Linked DNA regions of Homo sapiens: region 1 is linked to region 2. Evidence: promoter capture Hi-C in human tissues and cell types (Jung and others, 2019). All regions are on one chromosome and are shown on one strand. The core of a region is centred on a gene start or on the middle of the fragment in contact, and the rest is flanking DNA. Distances in the headings are between cores, read along the strand shown.

What was found. The method cuts DNA at HindIII sites, captures the fragments that hold promoters and counts their contacts. A contact is called where the count stands out against the background at its distance.
Region 1: a contact is called between a fragment that was not itself captured here and the fragment with the promoter of CRY2 in region 2, in 1 of the 25 tissues and cell types used here (pancreas).

The regions. Positions count from the first base shown.
Region 1 is chr11:44,614,452-44,618,132 of GRCh38, reverse strand. CD82 (CD82 molecule) reads right to left here. Exons shown (of 10, transcript NM_002231.4): 7 at 2,760-2,861. Among named protein-coding and RNA genes, the nearest start is that of CD82-AS1, 11 kb to the right of the region's middle. RefSeq lists an enhancer at 1,367-1,716. The HindIII fragment of the contact is 7,048 bases long and covers 1-3,681 here.
Region 2 is chr11:45,845,107-45,849,097 of GRCh38, reverse strand. It overlaps CRY2 (cryptochrome circadian regulator 2), which reads right to left and starts at 1,623. Exons shown (of 12, transcript NM_021117.5): 1 at 1,393-1,623. The coding sequence starts at 1,607. RefSeq lists a silencer at 853-962 and enhancers at 911-1,432, 1,363-1,602, 1,963-2,012, 2,063-2,172. The HindIII fragment of the contact is 4,522 bases long and covers 1-2,352 here.

The DNA of each region.
Region 1 (3,681 bases), core at 998-3,497, 1.2 Mb after region 2:
GCTCACGGCTCACCCTAGGCAGGCTGCCCTCCTGGCAGAGGGAGGACCTCCCCAGGACAGAGACTGAGATATGCCACTTCCAGGCCCCTGGTCCCAGCCGAACCATCATAAACTACAAGTACAGCAGAAAAATCAAAACCAGGACCAGCAAAAATACAAAGCAGAGTAGGAAGGAAGTTCAAGTTGAAGGAGCGCAGGTGTGCAGGGCACAAGGAGAATGGACGGCAGACAGTTCACAGTGCAGGGTTTAAAGTCAGGCTACTGGGTTACAATCCCAGCCCTGCCGCCTACCAGCTGAGCAACCTCCATCAAGGAACTAGCCTCAGTTTCCTCATCTGTAAATGGGGATAATTAAAATCCCCAACTCACAGGGCTATCACAAGGACTAAATGGGATGAGGCAGGCAAAGTACCAAGCATAGGTGTGGGGAGCACAATAAGCTTAGGAAAGGCCGTTCAACTTTAGTGCAGGAGTTGAGATTTGCCTCTGAGCTTCCTGGTGAAAAGGAAAAAAAGTGAAAAGTGAAAAAGGAGACGGGGTCAATTCCGCCTTTTTTTTTTTTTTTTTTTTTTCTGAGACAGAGTCTTGCTCAGTCACCCAGGCTGGAGTGCAGCAGCGTGATCTTGGCTCACTGCAACCTCCACCTCCAGGGTTCAAACGATTCTCCTGCTTCAGCCTCCTGAGTAGCTGGGATTACAGGCACTCGCCATCACGCCCGGCTAATGTTTGTATTTTTAGTAGAGACGGGGTTTCACCATGTTGGCCAGGCTGGTCTTGACCTCCTGACCTCAAGTGATCCGCCCGCCTCGGCCTCCCAAAGTGCTGGGATTACAGGTGTGAGCCACCTTGGCTAGCTGGTCAATTCTGCCATTTTAAAGGAGAAAATGCTCTAGTTCTAGAGAGAAGAAAGCCTTTCCGGGCTCTGTGTGCTAAAGGAGGTCTCTGTGTGTGAATCCCCGCAATGCTGGGGGTTCCTGGGAGGATTCAATGGGATAGCCACGGTCACAGCAGGGGTCAGTTCCTGGACCGCTTCCTTCCTAGCTCCGAGGGGTGTCGCCTGACCAGTAGCCAGTGGCCAGCAGGGGGCGTGCCAGGCACACTCAGAAATGCTCAGCTCCAGGCAGTTTCTAATCCAGGTTTACAGGTGCTTGTTCCAGCAGCCGGGCTGCCTCCTCTCTCCAAGAAAAGGCTGGCACCTCTGAGGGGTGCACAGGTCTGCAAGGCTGGGGGCACCCACAGGCCATCCTACACCAGAGCAAAATGAGGCAGGTCTCCTTGGCCCGTCTACGACAGAGCCTCCTTCCAAGCAACCCCTTGGCCTGACTCCGGCTGTACCTGGTCCCCAGCAGCACACGCCACCTCCGCCTGTGTCTCCATGGATGTGCATGGTGACTAAAACATCACCACCAACATACCACATAATAAATGCTGCCTAAGTGCTTCAGGCTTTAACAATGTATCTCACACGGCATGGGTCAGTAGCCCCATTGTATAGATGAGGAAGCAGGCTCAGCAAAGGTCTAGCGGCTGTGGCAGTGTTAGCACTCCAGGCCTTGGGAGTCTGACTTACCACCGGCCTAAGCAGCATCTGACAGCATCAGAATCATCTAGAACCAGCCAATGACTTTCCAGGGTAGGATGCTTACCACCTCCCAAGGGACCCACTTCTCCTCCCAGGTCCCTTGTCAGGTGGCACTGGTTTATGTCACTGGTGACATCCAGACTTTGCTAAAATTAGCAAAGTCTCAGCAATTGTGGGTCAAACTACATATGCGACCAAAACATTTCCTTGTGTGCACCAAGCCTTCCAGCTGCCACAACCCCCACACCTGATCTCCTCGGTCAGGGCCAGAAAACATCGCTCTCCCCTTCCTCCACTGAGAAAATGGCCATGTCCATGTCACCTAGATGGAGTGTCCTCTCTGCAAACTCTCCTGGTGCCGCTGAGTCAGGCTTTCTCCTGCTGCCCATGCCCTTTGTACTCCACATCCCTCCCCTGAGGTGTCAACAGGCCCTAAGTGACCACTGTGTCCTGCGCCCTCACAGGATTGCAGATCAGAGATGTCAGGTCCCAGCCAAGGGCACATGCAGCATCCGGGACCACAAGAAAGGAGAGCCAGGTGGTCATTGGATCACTATTGAGACAGGCTGGGAACCTGGTCAGTCTATCTGTTGGTCAGTCGGTCAGTCCGTCCGTCCATCTGTCCACCCATCCATCCATCCATCTCTCTCACTTTAATGGAGGTATAATACACATGAACTAATGGGCACACATTCAGCTTGGTGCATTTTTACGTATGTGCACATACTGGCGAAACCAGTATCAAGATTTGGCTAAAATACTCCTTTTGCCCTAGAAGGCTCCCCAACACCTCCCCAGCTAGTGCCCTTCCCCAGAGGCAGCCTTCACTGGGACTTCTCAGCATATCAGCCTTGGCTCCCAGTTTCCTAAAACCCAGAGTGGAGCTCCCAACGCTCCCCAGTGTAGCTTGAGATAAGAGGGCTGACAACTGCCCCCATGCTCTCTGGCCACAAATGGGAGCACAGAGCTGTGAAGCTGCCTCTGAGTCTCTGGGCCCCCTGAGCAGGGAGTTGTGGTGCTAACTGGGGTGCCCTGCCCCCATAGAAGCACACTCTCCTACAAACTGTCAGGCACACACGAGCACTGCAGATGCCAGTCCCAGACATGTGGGTGCACAGAGCCCCAAATGCAGGGACACCCAGGCCAGAGAGCCTCCTGCAGCCCCGCCCCACCTCACCTGAGCCTGCACGTAGTCCCAGGCATCCTGCAGGCTGTCCTCGCGACTGCTGTTGTAGTCTCGAATGAGCTCAGTCACGATGCCGCCCATCTCCTGCTTCAGCTGCAGGGGGGAGGACAAAGGTCAGGGTCAGATTTCCTGAAACCCGTGCCCACCTGTGGTCACCCCTACTTAAACTGCCTCCCCCCGTTCCCCTCAGCAACCCTGGGACACGCTCATGGCTCCAGCCACTTTCCTGGCGCTCCCAGGGTGCCCGATGCAGGCAGTGCCAACCACTCCTGCCCCACTATCTCTTCTGCGCTTGGCAGCAGCCTGGCCCTGTAAACATCAATATTCTCATGTCACTGCTGAAAACCCCGTAGGGGCCTCCCACCTCCAGGGCAGTTCCCACCGTCATTGTCCCCATAACAGCCTAGGAGGTCCTACACCACTTGTCTGCCTCCCCAGGCCTTCTGTCCTCTGTTCTTCCTCCCTCTGCTTCAACTGACTAGATTTCTGTGCTGTCTTTGTGCCAGGCACACTCCTGCCTTGGGGCCTTTGCACCTGCTGTTCCCACCGCCTGGAATGCTCTTCCCCTAGACATTAACATGGCTCACCCTCTGCTTCCTTCAGGGCTCTGCTCCAATGTCACCTCCTCAGAAAGGCCTTACCAGACCACTCTACAAAATATCAGCCCTTCCCCATCCCCTCTCCCCCAACCAATCAACCACCCCTCCCCGGCCTCCCTTATCCCACAAGGGAAAGCATGCTGTATTTCTCTTTAGAGCACTGACGTTACATGCTTGTTGGTTTTCAGGGCTTATCATCTCTCTCCACTAGCACATCAGCTCCGTGGGGGCAGGGACCACATCTGGCACGCTCACTACAGGGTCCCCCGTGGCTAGCGCCAAGCCTGGCACAGAATAGTTGTGTGGGGTACGTG
Region 2 (3,991 bases), core at 374-2,873:
TGACAATGTAACAAGAAGGTAGTCGGATTCCATTTGCCTGGCTCCGACTGGTGCAGGGCAAAGTCTGAGGCTTGGCTTAATGTGCACACTAGGGATGGTCATTTGATGATGCTTGTCAAACCCAACCTCCTATCTGTAGAAAACTGGAGCAGAGACAGAGCAATAAGGCAGCCTGAAAACTGTGGGCAGGCTCTCCACAGGACTCCTTAGTTGTTCCTTCTGGGCAGGAGGGGACACTGAACAGGCCCACTGCTAGCAGCACTCACTCTCTTAGCAGGGCACACACCTTGGAGAGAAAAGAATGGTGTGCCGAGAGCCACGGTATCCTGGAAATAACCCTGTCCATCGATGCAACAAGGCCACAAGCAAACATTCCCCAGAACAATGCAAACAAACCGAGCGACTGCCACTAGGTGTTCTGAAGAGCGATGGGTACATTATGTCTCAAAACTCTTTAGTTTGAATACTGTTTACAGTGAAAATACACTAACGACCTGTTCATCTTTTTCCATGATCATGTCGACTCCATCTCCTGGGGGGTCATCAGAGGGGCCCTTGATATCATGGCTTTCCTGCTCCCTAACCTTACCACAACAGTTCATAAAAGTCTCATCTCTAATGGCTCTACTGTCCTCTAAAATCATGACAAGAGGATGACGGGGTGACACTTTGGATTCTTTTAAATTTTTCTATCGAGGTCAAAGCTCCAGAGCAGGGCTTAAAACATTTTGGAGAATCCCCTGGATTCTCTGGAGCTTTGAACATAAAGCGACTCCACCTGAAGACGCCTTTGGCTTCTTTATTTATAATATAGGGGAGAAGACCTTATTTAATGCTAAGCCAGGGTCACTTGACACCCCTAGAGGCAGGACGGTCTGGGTGCAGGGTAGCCAGGATGGGTGGTAGGGCGGATTCAAACGAGCCAGAGGCTTCGGAGTGATCTCCCCGAGCCCAGCAACGGGCTCTTGAAGAATGCGAGCAAAAACCCGTCCCGCCCTCACACTACGTTATCTCCCTTCCGCCCCTCCCTGAGTAGACCGTAAGAGCCCTAGACCAGGAGCCCCTGTTCTGCCACTCACTGGCTACAAGTCCTTGGGCAGGTCGACTTTGGGTCTCCAGGGCTCAAGGGTCTCATCTGTACAACGGGGATCATGATCTCCGTTCCACAGGCAGTTGTGAGGCTCAAAGGGGTAACAGTGCGAACGCGCTTTGTCAGAGGCTGAACCCTGGCCCACCGGCGCGTTAGGACCATGACGAATTACTTCCCCGGTCTCGGCTTCTCCCCTCTGGCCTTCCAGCCGTGGCGGGGTTGGGGGGATCGTGCTGTTCGCCGGTCACCCCAGGGTCAGGGTCCTGGCTGCGTCCCCGCCACCCAGCCCCGGGTCCCCTCACCTCCATCGGTTGATCCCGACTGAGGAGGAGGCCGCGAACCACGGGTCGAGAATGTAAACGCAGCGCACGCAGCGCGCCCCGCGCACGGCCGCCAGCAACGCCGGGTTGTCGTGGAGTCGCAGCCCTTTGCGGAACCAGTGCACCGAAGAGGCGCTGTCCGTGCCGGGCGCTGGCGCCGGGGCCACAGCTGCCGCCGTCGCCACAGTCGCCGCCATGACTGTCCAGACTGCTCCAGCCACCCCCGCTCCGCCCCGGTAGGCGACGTGGACCCCGCCCATAGCCCGCCCAGTGACCTATGACGCCGCAACTCCACCCTTAGTCCCCGCCCACAGGGCCCCAGAGCCCCTCTGCCATTGGCTGAGTGCCTTCCACCTGGCGATTGGCCCAGAGGCGCCGGAACAGGCCCGCCCCCTCACGTTCCTACCATGTGTGGGTCCGCCCGGGTGGAGCTGGCATGCGGACAAGTGACGCAGGCTGGGGCTGTCCGCAGGCTGGGGCTGTCCGCGGAGTGCCGGGAGTAGGCCAAGTCTCAAGGGACAGCGGATCTCTTACCCACGTCCTGTTCAGGGCCTGCTTCTAGAAGAAGCTGCCTGGGCTGGTAGGGGTTGCTGTGACTACAGCCAGTGACTTGCAAGACTGACAGCTGACCTTCCTATTATCACCAACATCGTCACCATCACCATCTACATCATTCTACTACAGCTGCCATTTATTAAGTGCACTTTATATGGCAAGAGACATGATCATCTCCTTACGTAGACGGTCTCATTTACTATTCTCAACTCAGCCCAGTTACATTCATTTAGCGAACCCCAGTGAAAAAGCTGCTGTTGTTTTCGTTTCACAGATGAAGAAAACGGAGGGTGCCGCAGGTTGAGTGACTTATTCAATATCATAAAGCTGCTAAGAGGATTTCACCCAGATTATTCTGATTTCGAAATTTCTGCTTTTATCCACGAAGCTATACTTCTCTTTGTGCGAAGATCCTTGGTAATTCCAAGTGGCAGAGTCTAAGGACGGGGAAGGAGTGCCCTAATATGCAGCAGTAGAGGATTTGGGAGTAAGGACTGGGAATGTGGGGGACTTGAATTGAGATAGTAATTATGCCATCAGATGAATTTATTTTCTTTTAGTCTGTTTAGTAGATCCAGTGTGTGCAAAGCACTGTACTGGATTCCGGGTAGGGTTCAGAGATGTGGAGGACACTGTCCCCATTCTTCTGGGACGCCAGGTGGAACCCTCTTGGGCTAAGACGGCTTAGTCAAGCTGCAGCTTTGGGGTTATCAGGTGGAAAACAGTCTGTTTCAACTTGACCCTAGGTTGAGCCCATGCTTGGAACCCTTCCTGGACCTGGGACAGAGTGATGAAAGCATTTAGTAATTTAGTCTGCAATTTAGTGGCATTAATTGGCACCACTCTCTAAACCAGTGTCACTGCAATCCTAGGCATTCTCTGTCATTTCCAGGGCTTTTCACGAGCTGTTCCAGCAGTCTAGATCACACTCCCTCTTCCATCTTTGTTTCTAACTCCAGTTTGCTCTGTATCATTGTTCAGTATAGATGTCACCTTCTTGCTGTCTGATCCCAACCTGAATAGTGCCCCATCTTATTCTGTGCTTCTTTTTGGTCACTTGTCTTGGCACACAATACTGAAATTTCTTGCTTAAAAGTCTTTCTGCCCCATTAGAGTATAAACTCCTGGAGAGCAGGGGCTGTGGCTTATTTACATACAGTTGTATGTCTGAAGTCTAGCTCAGGGCTTGGCACCTAACGCTCAAGGATTATTTGAGTAAAAATTGAACTAGAGTCTCATATTGGCAGGCTCTTAAAGGTTTATCCTAGTCCGCTTACCTGACCCTTTCCTTATTTTTGAATTTCCTTTCCAAATTCTTGCTGAATAAATCGATGCAATCTTTCATTACTTTTATTTTAAGGTTTTGTGTTCCCCCTCTCCTATGCCCTCTTCTCTCCACAAGGTTGGTGCTTTGCTAGGAATGAAACAGAGTGTAAGGAGGTGGTTCTCCCTTAACCTCAGAGATGGGTCCTCTTCCCTTTTTCTCCTCTAAATTCCCATAATGCTATATCTGTATTCCGTGAACCCTGTGAGGCAGGGACTGTGCTTGTCTTACTTTTCAGTGTCTTCTCAGCTGGTACTCTGGTACCTAACATATAGTAGGTGCTCAAAAAACATTTGTTGAATGATCAAAAGTCACTTCCCTCCCCTCCCCTCGCTCTCTTATTAAGCTATCATGAGAGGCAGTGTGATGTAATGGTTAAACCTGAGGCTTTGCACATTGGAGTTGCTGAGTTCAAATTCTAGTTCTGCTTTTATTCTCTGTGACCTTGGATAAGCTAGTTAACCTCTCTGTTCCTCACTTTCTTAATCTTTGCAATAGGGTGATAATAGCACTTAGGATATAGTAAGCATTTGTACTGTGTCAGCTACTGTTATTCTGAACAGCAGGACCTGTGTCTGGTTTTGTCTTCCTTGTAATGCTCAGCCCTGGGTCTTACATGTAATGTGGGCTCCATAAGTTGCTGACTACATAAAATATTTTACTTATTTTTTTAAAGTCCTTGAAATTTTGCCAATAATGAAA